2 separate regions of the Homo sapiens genome follow, and region 1 is linked to region 2. Evidence: promoter capture Hi-C in human tissues and cell types (Jung and others, 2019). All regions are on one chromosome and are shown on one strand. The core of a region is centred on a gene start or on the middle of the fragment in contact, and the rest is flanking DNA. Distances in the headings are between cores, read along the strand shown. Region 1 overlaps PBK (PDZ binding kinase). Region 2 holds the start of PNOC (prepronociceptin).

Evidence for each region. The method cuts DNA at HindIII sites, captures the fragments that hold promoters and counts their contacts. A contact is called where the count stands out against the background at its distance.
Region 1: a contact is called between a fragment that was not itself captured here and the fragment with the promoter of PNOC in region 2, in 1 of the 25 tissues and cell types used here (dorsolateral prefrontal cortex).

The regions. Positions count from the first base shown.
Region 1 is chr8:27,825,176-27,832,342 of GRCh38, reverse strand. PBK (PDZ binding kinase) reads left to right here. Exons shown (of 8, transcript NM_018492.4): 3 at 4,145-4,238. Among named protein-coding and RNA genes, the nearest start is that of PBK, 9.1 kb to the left of the region's middle. RefSeq lists a silencer at 4,205-4,405. The HindIII fragment of the contact is 5,828 bases long and covers 1-4,854 here.
Region 2 is chr8:28,312,895-28,319,770 of GRCh38, reverse strand. It overlaps PNOC (prepronociceptin), which reads right to left and starts at 2,503. Exons shown (of 4, transcript NM_006228.5): 1 at 2,455-2,503. RefSeq lists enhancers at 486-997, 998-1,510. The HindIII fragment of the contact is 3,220 bases long and covers 678-3,897 here.

The DNA.
Region 1 (7,167 bases), core at 691-3,190, 490 kb after region 2:
TGTATTATGTTAGATGTAGGTTTTTCACAAATACCCTTTATTAGTTTGAGGAATTTTTCTTCTATTTCTAGTTATTATCGTGAGTGGGTATTGAACTTTGTAGAGAGCTTTTTCTGAATCTATTAAATTTTCTTTTAAAATCTCTCAATGTGGTAAATTATGTTAATTTTCAAGTGTTAAACTGAACTTCCTTGTGTAAAGCCAGTTTGGTCATGATATATTTTATATATTGCTTGATTTGCTGATATTGTCTATATTCATGAGGGATATTGGACTGCAGTTGTCTTTTTGGGATATCTGTCTAGTTTTAATATTAGGTTATTCTGTATTCATAAAGATGAGAAATGTTTCTCTTTTTTTAATAGAAATATCTTTTTCTTTAACTTTGTGTAGAATTGGTATTATTCCTCCTTAAATTGGTGGAATTCACTAGTAAAGCTATCTGGGCCTGGAGTTTTCTTAGTAGGAAGAGTTTAACTGTGATTTCACAGTTAATAGATATAGGGCTATTCAAGTGATCTCTTATTTTCTTTGTGAATTTTGTTAGTGTTTTTTAAGGAATTTGTCCATCACTTCTAAATTTTCAAATGTACTGGTGTGAAGTTATTCTTGATACACCCTTATTAACCTTCTAGTGTCCTTTTTCATATCTGGTACTAGTATTGTATATTTTCTTAATTTTTTTCCTTAATCAGTCTGACTTGAGGTTTATGTATGTTGGTGAATGTTGCATGCACTTGAAAAGGGCATTTTTTTCTACTCTTACTGGGTACGGTGTTCTACAAATGTCAATGTTCTACAAATGTCAATGATATTCTGTATACTTTTTATATTAATTATGAGAGAAGAGAGTTGAAGTTTCCAACTACAATGTGGATTTGTCTGCTTCCCCCCACCCCCAATTTCTATCAGTTGTTGCTTCATGTATTTTGAAGCTTTGTTATTAGGTACATACACATTTAGGATGGTTATTTCTTTTCTTTTTCTTGTTTTTTTGAGTTTCCTTTTGTCACCCGTAATGGAGTACAACAGTGTGATCTCGGCTCACTGCAACCTCTACCTCCTGGGCTCAAGTGATTCTGGTGCCTTGGCCTCTGGAGTAGCTGGGATTACAGGCGTGCACCACCATGGCCGGCTAATTTTTGTATTTTCAGTAGAGACAGGTTTTCGCCATGTTGGGCAGGCTGGTCTCAAACTCCTGGCCTCAAGTGATCCACTCTCCTTGGCCTCCCTTTCAAGTGCATGCAACATTCACCAAGACACATAAACCACAAGTCAGATCCCAAAGTGTTGGGATTACCATGCCTGGCCTAGGATGGTTATTTCTTTTGATGAATTTATACCTTAACTGTTACGAAATACCCTTCTTAATCCTCAGTGGTACTCTTTGTTCTGGAGTCCACTTTATGTGATAGTAATGGAGCCACTCCAGATTTATTTTGATTTGTGTTTTAATGATGTTTTTCAACCCTTTACTCTTGCCCTATTTGCGTCTTTATATTTAAATTGAGTTTATTATAAATGGCATGTCTCGTCTTGTTTTTATCCGTTCTGACAACTTTAATTTCCTTTAACTGGACTGTTTTGCCATTAGCTACATGTGGCTATTTAAATTTGGTTATTTAAATTTGGATTATTAAATGTGGTTATTTAAATTTGGATACAAATTAATTAGAATTAAATAAAATTACAAATTGAGTTCCTCAGTTGTATTAGTCACATTTTAAGTGCTCAGCGCTCAGACAGCACAGATATAGACATTTCCACATGGCAGCATGATGTATTGGACAGCTCTGTTTAGACCATTTATACTCAATGTAATTGTCTATTGTTGGATGTAAATCGGCTGTTTTGCTATTGTCCCATAGCTCATTGATGATTTTTTTCTAACCTTTTTCTCTCTTTGCTTCATTTTTGATAGTTTTTGTTGCTCTGTCTTAAGATTTAGTTATTCTTCTGCTCTAAGATGATGTTATTCTTATCCATTGTATTTTTCATTCCTAAGCTTCTATTTTGTCTTTTTTTTTCCGTTATGCTCAGATTTTCCTTTGTATCATTGAGCACATTTTTAAGATTTGTCTTAAGGTTCTTATCTGCTAATTTTGCCATTCCTGTCATTTTTTTTTTTTTTTTTTTTCTTGAGACAGAATCTTGCTCTGTCACCCAGGCCGGAGTGCAATGGTGCGATCTCAGCTCACTGCAACCTCCACCTCCTGGGTTCAAGCAATTATCCTGCCTCAGCCTCCCGAGTAGTCGGGATTACAGGCACGTGCTACCACGCCCAGCTAATTTTTGTATTTTTAGTAGAGACAGGGTTTCGCCATGTTGGCCAGGCTGGTCTTGAACTCCTGGCCTCAAGTGATCCACCTGCCTCAGCCTCCCAAAGTGCTGGGATTACAGGCGTGAGCCACCACTCTTGGCCTCCTGTCATCTTATGGTATGTTTCTATTGATTGATTGATTTTTTAATTTTTTGAGATGGAGTCTTGTGCCCTGTCGCCCAGGCTGGAGTGCAATGGCGCTATCTCAGCTCACTGTAACCTCCGCCTCCTGGGTTCACGCCATTCTCCTGCCTCAGCCTCCCGAGTAGCTGGGATTACAGGCACGTGCCACCACACCTGGCTAATTTTTTGCCTCTTTAGTAGAGACGGGGTTTCACCATGTTGGCCAGGCTGGTCTCGAACTCCTGACCTAGTGATCTGCCTGCCTCGGCCTCCCAAAGTGCTGGGATTACAGGCGTGAGCCACCGCGCTAGGCCTCTATTGATTTATTTTTCTCCTATATTGGTCATATTTTCTTGCTGCTTTCATGCCTGGTACTTTTTGATTGGGCAGTAGATATTTTGCATTGTCTAGTACTGGATTTTGTTATTCCTTTAAAGAGTGTTTGATTTAGTTATGGTCTGAGGTTAAGTTACCTGCACATTAGCCTGTTCCTTTTGAGACTGGCTTTTAAGCTTTGTTTTGAATGTTTATCTGGGGCTAAACTTTAGCTGTACTATCTAGTTGTGACCCTTTAGAGGACTTTACTATGTGTTACAGGGTTACCATCCTCTAGCTCATGGTGATATGAAGTGTTCCTAGACTTGTATGATCTCTGGTAATTGTTGAGCCAATTGCTTTCCTCTGGTGCTTTCCCAGCTTTGGGGCATCTACACATTGTTATGTGCGGATAAGTACTTGGCCAAACACTCAAAGAGAAACTGTTCAGATCTTTGGAGTGCTCTCTTTGGAGCTCTCTAGTTCTCTGCTCCACAAATTCTAGCCGCCTAGTCCTTCTTGACCTCTGATCTCTGTCTCTTCAATGTGACAGGACTTCTGGATTATGTGACCTCTGTCCTGCAGTCTGGAAACTGCCTTCAAGCAGTAAGTTAGGGCAGTGATAGGGCCCACCTCATTTGTTTCTCTTCTCTCAGGCATCACAACACTGCTCTGCCTGTTGTCAAGTGTCTGAAAACAATTATATTTTGTCTAGTTTTCTAGTTAATGGCGAGATGGTAACTCTAGGAGCAGTTAATTGTCCAGGAGTAGTTAATTATTTTTCATGAGCAGAAGCAGAACTCCATCTTTTCATCTTTTTTTTTTTTTTTTTTTTTTTTTGAGACTGTGTCTTGCTCTGTCACCCAGGCTGAACACAGCTCACTGCACCTGCACCCTTAACCTCCTGGGCTCAAGTGTTTCTCCCAAGTAGCTGAGACCACAGGTGTGTGCCATCATTCCTGGCTAATTAAAAAAATTTTTTCGTGTGTAGAGATGGAGTCTCTTTATGTTGCCCAAGCTGGTCTCTACTGGGCTCAAGTGACCCTCCTGCCCCGGACTCCAAAAGCGTTGAGATTATAGGCATGAGCCACCACATCCAACCCCTTTATCTTTTAACAATGTTTTAAAAATGTGAAAACAGTTCTTAGCTTGTAGGCCATACAAAAACAGGCCATTTCCCAATCTCTGCTTCAGAGTTACTGTAGGATAAAACTCCAAAAGTAGGCTTGGTCAAAAGATACCCATTTAAAATTAGGATATATGTTGTCAAATTGCTCTCCAAAAAGACTGTGCCAATTAATACTCTTGGCAGTAGTATATTGAGAATGTTAAGATGCTTTATTTTTATTTTTTATTAATTTTATTTTTTATTTCTCTGACATTTAGTATTATGTTCAACTCCAACTATAAATATCCCGGCCTCTCCGTTTATGCAGAAGCTTGGCTTTGGTACTGGGGTAAATGTGTACCTAATGAAAAGGTAAGTATAAGATTTCAGATTAACCTTTTTTCATGCAACTATAATTCTACTGTACTTGGAGACAAAGAAGTAGTCTGAAAATTCCAGTATTTAGATTCGGTTGTCTGCTCCTGATCCTGGCTGATGGCTGTATTCCGGTCCCTAGACCCTTTTGTAACTTTGCCTGTAGCTCTGCCTCTGCTTTTCTCCTAGCTTCCTCCTGATGGGTTATTAAAGGGGAAGTCATTTACTTTTTAATTTTTCCTTGGCTTCCATAAGAAGGGGAAGTGGCAGGGGAAAGGGTTCCTTTGTGGTAATTAAACCAGATTCTTCATGAGAAAACCTCAAAGAGGAAGCCAGTATTGGGTGATGTCAGTGACTGCTGTCTTTTCTGCAGCGTTGCCCTCCTAAGATATGCTCTTCTAAAAGAAGTAAAAGATTTTCATTTCTTATGGCATTGTTATTAAGAAGGGTAAATACATGATTTTAAAGTAGGAATATTGTGTTAAGAAAAATGAAATAATCGAACAAGTATGGTGCCAATATAGCTGTCAACAAAGTGTTTTTTTAAATTACTTTTTTATTATTCATATATTTTTTTGAAACAGAGTCTCACTCTGTTGACCAGGCTGGAGTGCAGTGGCACGACCTCCCAGGTTCAAGCGCTTCTCCTGCCTCAGCCTCCTGAATAGCTGGGATTACAGGCGTGTACCATCACACCCAGCTAATTTTTGTATTTTTAGTAGAGACAGGGTTTTGCCATGTTGGCCAGGCTGGTCTCGAACTCTGGCCTCAAGCGATCTGCCCGCCTTCGCCTCCCAAAATGCTGGGATTACAGGTGTAAGCCACCATGCCCAGCCCAAAATTACTTCTTTTAATCATTACTCTGTACCTAGTTTCATGTTTATTAAGTGGCAAACAACTACATCAATATATATTCCTTAATGCATTCTTGGAATCAGTCTAACTAGTCCAACCCTCCGTATCTTAGCTTCATCTAGGTTTACATTGTTTCCAGATAGAAATGCTTTCTTTAATAAGAGGCTAATTAAGAATAATTTAGTAATTATATACAATGGGTATTCCTGAAGCATTTTTGCAGTTTAAACATTTTTTTTGTATGTTTGTATGGTATTGTTTTCTAATTTGTTTTTTAGTGTTAACTCCTATTTTGAAAGAAAAAAATTCTCACAGGTTTATGGCTAGTTTCATTTTTTTCCCCCTTTTTAAAAAAAGTTTTTAAATGTAAAGTGTTTTTAACAAAGTTACACTGTATGTGGTTTAGTCAAAAAGCTTCAAATAGCTGATCTTTTTTTTTTTTTTTTTTTTTGAGACGGAGTCTCGCTCTGTCGCCCAGGCTGGAGTGCAGTGGCGCGATCTCGGCTCACTGCAAGCTCCGCCTCCCTGGTTCACGCCATTCTCCTGCCTCAGCCTCCCGAGTAGCTGGGACTACAGGCGCCCGCCACCACGCCCGGCTAATTTTTTGTATTTTTAGTAGAGACGGGGTTTCACCGTGTTAGCCAGGATGGTCTCGATCTCCTGACCTCGTGATCCGCCCGCCTCGGCCTCCCAAAGTGCTGGGCAAATAGCTGATCTTGAAGAACAGCAGTGCCTGCCTGACCCTACACTCCTCCTGATTCAGCCCTGTCAACCTGGGATTTCTTTTATCCATAACCTGCAAATTTCCTATGCTTCTCTGCTGAATTATATCCTGTGTTTTTAGGTATCTTGTGTCTTATTATTTCTTGATTTACATCCCGTTTTCATTTAGGACATCTGGTAGCTCCCCATGAATCGGTGCACAGAAGATATATTTTTTTGAGAATTTGCATTTCCAAAAATGTTTTCATTTTACTCATACTTGAATGGCCCTTTTTGGTTTTCTGGGTTACAATTCTCATTTGGAAACAATTTCCCTCCAGAATTTTGAGAATATCAGTCACTGACATTGTTTTTTTTCTAGCTTACACTGTTGCTGTTGAGAATTATGAAGCCTTTTTGACTGCTAATTCTTCATATGTAATCCGTTTTATGTTATCTGTCCCCCCCACTGTCCTGGATCCTGGTATGATCTTCTGTATGTCGGTAGCATTCTGAAATTTCACAATGACATGAGTGGATGTGGGGATCTTGGAATCTGAATAGTTCCTGTTCTTAAATTTCTGAGACATTATTTTAAAAATTACTTTGTTGATGATTTTCACCTCTTTTTCTCTGTTCTCCATCTGGAATCCAATTATTTGAATGTTGAACTTACTGATTTCTCATCTACCTCTTTTTTGCTTGGTTTTCTTATTCGCTATCTTTTTTCTGAGATTTCCCCAGCTTTATCTTTCAACAATTCTATTGAGTTTTTATCTTGTTTTTAATTAATTATCTTTTTAAAAATAGCATCTTTAGTCTCTTGGAGTGCTAGAAATGTTCGGTATCTAGGTGTTGATAACACAGGTATATGCACATGTAAAAACTCATTGAGCATTTAGTATGCATATGGTGATTAATTATTAACCTGCTTCTGTATTACAGGTTCTCAACTGACAGTAAACCTCAGGCTAAAGACTTGTTTTATACCTTCCAAAGCTAGTCTACCATCTTTAGAAGCTGGGGAAGGGGGGTGGGCAGCTGCCAGTTGGTACAGAATTAAGGAGGGTATCTACGAGTCCACCTGTTTTTTACCATTATTATTTAGAGACAGGGTCTCATTTTGTTGCCCAGGCTGGAGTGCAATGGTGCCATCATAACTCACTGCAGCCTCAAACTCCTTGGTTTGAGCAATCCTCCTGCCTCAGCCTCCCAAGTAGCTGGGACTACAGGCGTGGGCCACCACATGTGACTTTTAAAAGTTTTTTGTAGAGAAGGGGTCTCACTATATTGCCCAGGCTGGTCTCAAACTCCTGGTCTCAAGTCATCCTCCTGACTTGGCCTCCCAAAGTGTTGTGATTATAGTTGT
Region 2 (6,876 bases), core at 1,254-3,753:
TCCACCCAGACTCGGAATGCAAGATATTTCAAAGCTTCCTTCGTGGGCTTTGGGAGCTGTGGAGCTGGATGGAGAAATGAGGGATCACTGAACCGTGTCAGTGCAAGTAGAGAACGCTCACCTGAAACTTCCCATTCCTACCAGTGTGCATATGTGCATGTGTGTATTAGCATGAAATAAGCACGTAGACAAGCTTAGCTCACTGCCTGGCACAGAGTGGGTTTCAAGAAATGTTAATTCCTTTGCCCTCATTTTATGTGTTTGACCTGGCTGCTGCCTCCCTCTTCAAAGCCCTTCACCCATCCAAATTCCACCTGCCTTCTCACTTGGTAGGATCCCAGGAATGCCTGGAGGAAATGCTCCTTCTCCCGAATTCTTCTAGCACTTGCTCTCTGGATTATGTGATTTAGGACTGAATTACACCCTGCCTTGCATGGTCCTCTAATTGTTTCTCATGTTTGTGTTACGTCTCTCCTCTACCCCCGACCCCACTATGAGTTCATAAGCACCCCTGACCGTAACGGGGAGATGAACTGGAGCCACAATGCCTTGGCTCAGTCCTGACCCTGCCATGTACTGAATAAATCATTTAATCTCTCAGTTTCAGTTTCTCCAACTGCAACACCGAGATAATGGCACCACCTCACAGGGCTGTTGCTGGGATAATAGGTGTGAAAGCGCCTAAATCGTTGTACAAATGTAAAGTGCTGTTATTATCACCTCTGCTGAATCTACTAGAGCCCCTGCAAGCCTCCCTGCCTGGTGGAGTGTAGACGGTAACTACCTGATTGATTGAATACAGGATAGCTTAGTGACAGCTCTTGTCATAGGCTCCAGGGAGCACAGGTTTGAGCCTAATCCTGCAATCACTCCCTTCACTGACAATGCAAACTCGCCTGCATTTTACAAATCCGTAAGTACTCTCAGCCTTCAGCTGATAAAGCAGGGGCTGCTGCCCTGTGCGCAACAAAACTGCGCCCTCAAAATGACCCGAGGCTGTACCACAGCGCCCTCGCCAGGCAGCACCAGGCGGCACATGCTTTTACAGAGGTGGTGATGGTTGGGGATGGGTTTTCCAGGGACCCTCCTCTGCAGAAGACTCAGCAAGCCCAAAGGAGCACGAATCCTTTTTGTTAAAGGTAACATAGCCTCAGTGTAAGCTTGTAGAATATTTCCCTGCCACACTTTACAAATGAGAAAAAAAGAGGCTGCATGCAGTAGCCACCCACAAGCAGCGAAAAAGAGCAGTATTTGCTTTGGGAGGTTTTGATAAGAAGCCAGGCAGTTACTTTTCCCATCTATGTTGAAAACTCTGGTTTGGGCTTGCTGGCGAATGCCGTGCAAAGCTCATCTTTTGTTAGTCTGCCGAACAATGTTATTGGTTATAATTGGGGCAATTATGGGCTGCTTGAGGAAGCTAAACACAGATGTTTAAGCGCAGGATGGGGGTATTCAAGTCCAAAGCAGCTTGCTTTAAATAGTCCATTTCCCGAATCATCCTGCCTTACTTGAAATTCCCCCAGAACTTGCCCATGTTCAGAGCGAGATTCGGGGAGGAGGGGCTGGGTAGTGAAGCCGGGGAAGCAAGACTCGAGGGAGAGAGATGCACAAAGAGAGGAGGAAGAAAGAAGGTGGCTGAGAGAGCCTCGAGAGTTGGGATGCGGTGACTATGAACGGAGTATTCTGCATGACCTGGGCAAAGACCTTTAGGTGGGGGAGATGGGCAGGGGGAGAGGGATGCCAAGCAAGAGAAGAGCCCTCTAAATGAATCGGGTTCTGGGAGACCAAGGTCACGCCCGTAGAAATGCTCTCTGGAATTCACACGCCGTGGCGCTCAGCAGTGTGTGTATACAGGTGAAGCACACTCCCCAGATCTGGCGCTTCCCCATTATTTGTAGCAATTTCTGCTGGGGGCAGAAGGGAGAAGGGCTCCCTCCGGATTAAAAACTCCCATCTGGATGGCATCAAGTTCAGTGATAGGCGGAGAAGCAGCCTGCGCACCGCATCTGAGAGGAAAGGAAGCCACTGAGAGGAAACCCTCATGAGGGGGCCAGGGTCTTCCTGGGGGCCGCCCCGTGGAAGGCAAACCCCCTCCCAAGTGCCTGCCCCTCCTCTGGCCTCACTCCTCCAGCAGCCTCCTCTCGACACAGAGCAACAACCACGTAGGGGCCACAGCTGGGGAAGCAAAACTTTTCCTCATTTCCAAGTTCCCCTCTTTCTGCTTCTGCGTCTGTCTGAGGTTAAAAAAGAGACTCAGCCCTCCCCCGTTCCCCACCATCCAAGCGCTACAAAGGAGATGAATGAAGAAACCATCTCGCAAGAGGCCAGCAGCATCCACACTGGACAAAGGAGAGAGGCCGAGGAGCCAGCCCCTGGTGGCCCTGCCCTCCCGGAGCTCCACGCAGTTAGTCCAGTTAGTCGCGGTCGGGCTGGGGGCCCCGTGCAGTTGCCTACCTGAGAGCTGTCAGTCCCCGGCTCCCTCCGATGGATGCGAGGCTCGGTTCCGCTTTCTCAGCCACACCAGCATATATATCCTCTCCCCCACGCACAGCCCTCCCCTTCCCTGCCCACCTCCATGACACATACACACACTGACCCCCTTCAGCAACCAAACAGCAGAACCTGCAAGCCTTCCTGGCTGTTCCCTTCCCCCGGCTCTGCCATCAGACCTGTGACATCCCCACCTCCCCATCAATCCATTCTCAAGCCTGCTTCACCTGGACTCTGTTCAGCCAGGATCCCACAGCTGCCTTCCCTGTGCTTCCAGAGGCTCTGTGAGGACTGATGGGGAGCTCTGGCAAGTCAGAAAAAAAGCCTCCTGGTGACAGTGACGAGGCAGACCCCAAATCCTGGAGTCTCCTTGAGCAACCTTTTTGCCTGAGGAGTGAAGAATAGGAGGCAGGCAGAAGGGAGGGGAGCTCATGCCAAGCTCCTACCGACTCGGAGGAGCCCAGGGCTGAGCTAAGCCAAGCCCTGACCTAATGTCATTGCCCCTAACTAGGCCACTCAAGAGGTGGCTGCACCTGCCCTGGGCCAGGTCAGGAGGCATTTCCACAGGTGCCCACAGCATGGTGCAATGGAGAATGCTGAGACTCGAGGCTCAGATGGAAGTGTCTGAAATTCGGCTGTACAGTCAGAGCAAGGCACATCTCTTTGTGAACCTCAAGTCCTCCTTCCGGAAAATGAGTCTAATACTGCCCAGGATGGTTGTGAGTAGAAAAAGGAGATTCTGTTTGAATCTACAACACACGAGGCCCTTAATGAATGTGCTGCATCCTCCCTCTCCTCTCAGCCCGCTTTTCACACTGATTAGTACCACCTGGATGTAGAAATCCCATATCAGTGTCTGGTGTCACAACAGAGAGCTTTTAAAGCTTCTGCAACTTAGGGCATCACTACCGAGGGCCCTGGAGGCTCAGAAGCTCTGGAAGCTTCCCTGTCCCTTACTGCAGAGCCTCTTTGTCTTCTACAGCCGCCGGGGGTTGTGGGCTGCAGGAAAGGAGCTCACAGGCTGAAGGCACAGGCTTGAGGGTTTAGCATCCTTGTGGACCCCACGTTTCCTTACCTTAGGTGAATTTCACCATGACCCTGTCCTTGGTTTTCCTAAGAGGGTCTAAAATATTCCAGAATCCCAGGGTTTGAACCTATGTCATCCAAGGAGCTCAAGCACTCATTCATGTGGTTAAGTCCAGCTCTCTGGTCTACCCAGGACTGGGTGGAGAAGGATTGAGGGAAGCATCTGCCCTGACTGCAAATGGTATAGGGTTTCTTTTTGGGGTAATGGAAATGTTCTGGATTTAGACTGAGGTGATGGTTGCACAACATAGCAAGAATACTAAAACCCACCAAATTGTATGCTTTAAAATGGTGCATTTTATGTTATGGGAATTACATCTCCATAAAAAGAAAATAGGAAAAAGACAGCAAACATCTGCTCAGGTTAAGAGCAACAGGTTCTGAGAATAAAATTTCCCTTCCGTCTGTGTTCACAGCAAAAGGGCTCAGGAGACCAGCATACTCATGATTCTTCACTTAGATCTCTGTTGCCCAAACCTTACACTGCAGGTCGCAGCTACCATTTTGGACTCTTTGGGAAACCAGCATGTTCACTGACTGACACGGGGTCACTTTTGCATCCTGATGTACTTCAGTGTCTCAGGCCTGGAACCTGATTTCATACATGATGTGGCAGATATTGCAGGCTGCCTACCCAATCCCCATTTCCCTGTTCTTCCTTACTAAACGGTACCCTTGATTTTATTCCAGGCATCAATGCACTTAGCTAAAAGACTACATTTCCCATTGACCAAGGGTTGCCAATGAGCATTAAGCTGCAGGTCCTTGGGTGGGGTTTCCAGGAAAGCTTTTTTTTTTTTTTTTTTAGACGGAGTCTTGCTCTGTCGCCCAGGCTGGAGTGCAGTGGCGCCAACTCAGCTCACTGCAAGCTCTGCCTCCCAGGTTCATGCCATTCTCCTGCCTCAGCCTCCTGAGTAGCTGGGACTACAGGCACCTGCCACCATGCCTGGCTAATTTTTTTTTTGTATTTTTTTTTAGTAGAGACGGGGTTTCACCATGTTAGCCAGGATGGTCTTGATCTCCTGACCTTGTGATCTGCCCACTTCGGCCTCCCAAAGTGCTGGGATTACAGGTGTGAGCTACTGAGCCTGGCTGGGAAAGCTCTTTTAAAGGGGGTCAACTCACTGAAGGCCTCTCTCTCTTCTTTGTCCTCCCTCCATCCTGCCTGGGACACAAATGTGATGGCTGGAGCTCTAGCAGCTATCTTGGATTATGAGATAAGACAACTTTGAGGATGGAAGCCATGAGTAAATATGATGGAACATAAAGATGGAAGGATTTTGGGTCCCCCATGACTAATGGAATGGCCATATCAGTCTTGGACTCCAAACTTCAACCTTTTTTTAAAAACAAAAAAAAAACAAAAAAAACCCCAAACATTTATTTCAAATGTCAGTCAGGGTTCAGTTACCCATTGCTGCATAACAAGCCACACCAAGGCCAGAGGCTTGAAACAACAGACCACGTATTTGACTCATGATTCTACAGATTGGGAATTTTGGCTAGTCTCAGCAGGGCAGTTCTTCTGGTCTCAGCCTGACTCTCTTCTGCACCTGCAGTTGGACTCAGAAAGTTGGCTGGGTGTCAGCTGGGGACCTTGGTTCTCTTGCACATGTCTTATCCTTCATGGGTCTCTCACATCCCTCCAGCATATTAACCTGGCATAGTCTCATGGCAAGCCTGAAGTGAAAGCACAAGCAAATACAATCAAGCAAGGGAACAACCGCAAGCACACAGAACCTCTTGAGACCTAAGCATGGAGCTGGCAGTCCATTGCTTTTGCTACATTTGTTGGCTAAGGCCAGTTGCAAGACTGTCCAGAGCCAGGCTGGGTGGAGACTACAAAGTCCCAGGATAATAGAGGGTGGCTATGCAGAAGCCATTCATTGGAGGCATTTGAAACTTTTACTTCCTATGATTTAAGCCATTTAGTTGGATTTTCTATTACATCCAGTGGAAAATTACCTTAAACCAACACACCTGCCTTTGAGCACCTCGTCATTCCCAGGATGTTCAGGCAGCTAAATGCTTTTCTTCCCTTGCAGTTGAGGAAGAGAAAGAGCAAGAGTGAAAAGTCACTTAGCTTCTCTGGACTTTTCTTTCCTCATTTACCAGACAGAAGAGTTGAACCCAACACCTGGATATTCTTGGTGGGTTGAATGAAGCTGCATGTGGTGGCAGGCTGTCTCCAGTGATGGATGGGGAAGGGCAGGATGAACCCAGGAGGGAGTTTAAAACCACTGTTGGGTGGGGGAGTAGAAGAATCTTGCCCCTCAGAAAAGCACAAGTAGACTAGAAATGGTGCAGACTGTGTGGCGTTTGTGATGGCTTCAGGGCTTCCCCCTTGCCACACAGCCACTGAGACTTGGCACTTTGAGAGCCATGGGCTTCCCTTGGGTATGGTAACTGGTCACAGAGCAGCAAGCTGCCCCCTGCTTTTCTGATTGGCAGGATACATTTATTAAAATAGTTGGAAAAGAAAGGTCACATGTTCTTATTTCTACTGCTTTGTGTGTGTGTGCACGCGCGTGTGTGTGTATGCGTGTGTGTGTGTGTGCACAAGAACTTGGAATTAATAAAATTCTTGGCTGGGCGTGGTGGTTCATGCCTGTAATCCCAGCACTTTAGGAGGCCAAGGTGGGAGGTTTGCTTGAGCCCAGGAGTTCAAGACCAGTCTGGGCAACACGGCAAGACCCTGTCTCTATAAAATATAAAAAACTAGCCAGGTGTGGTGGTAAGCACCTGTAGTCTCAGCTACTTGGGAGGCTGAGGAGGGAGGATTACTTGAGCCTGGGAAGTTGAGGCTGCAGTGAGGCATGATTGAGCCACTGCACTCCAGCCTGGGTAACAGAGTAAGACCTTGTCTCATAAAAATAAAATAAAATAAAATAAAATAATGATTTCTTCTGCTTATGAGGTGGCGGAAGTTCACTCCTGCCCACACCAGCTTGGCATCTTCTTTGCAATAGAGGCCCAACCAGGGAGGCTGCAAACATTAGAATCCAATCTGTACTGATAGGTAAGTTTTGAGGCAGATTGAGAAAGCTCTTAAAATTGTCATCAGAATATCTCAGTAGAGGAAGTACAAGGGAAGGAGGCAGCTGCAGCTGGGCCCCATGTGCAGCTCAACGCACCTCCACCCACCTGCCAATTTTCCCCTCTCAGAGTAAAGAGCCTCTCCTGGCCAGGTATTTGGCTGCTTGGAATTTACTGATTAATTACGGCGCCTACCTCCAATTGGTCTCCTTAGTAACCACGTTAGCAGGGTCCCACTGGAAAAGCTGCTTCTTACTCAATGAG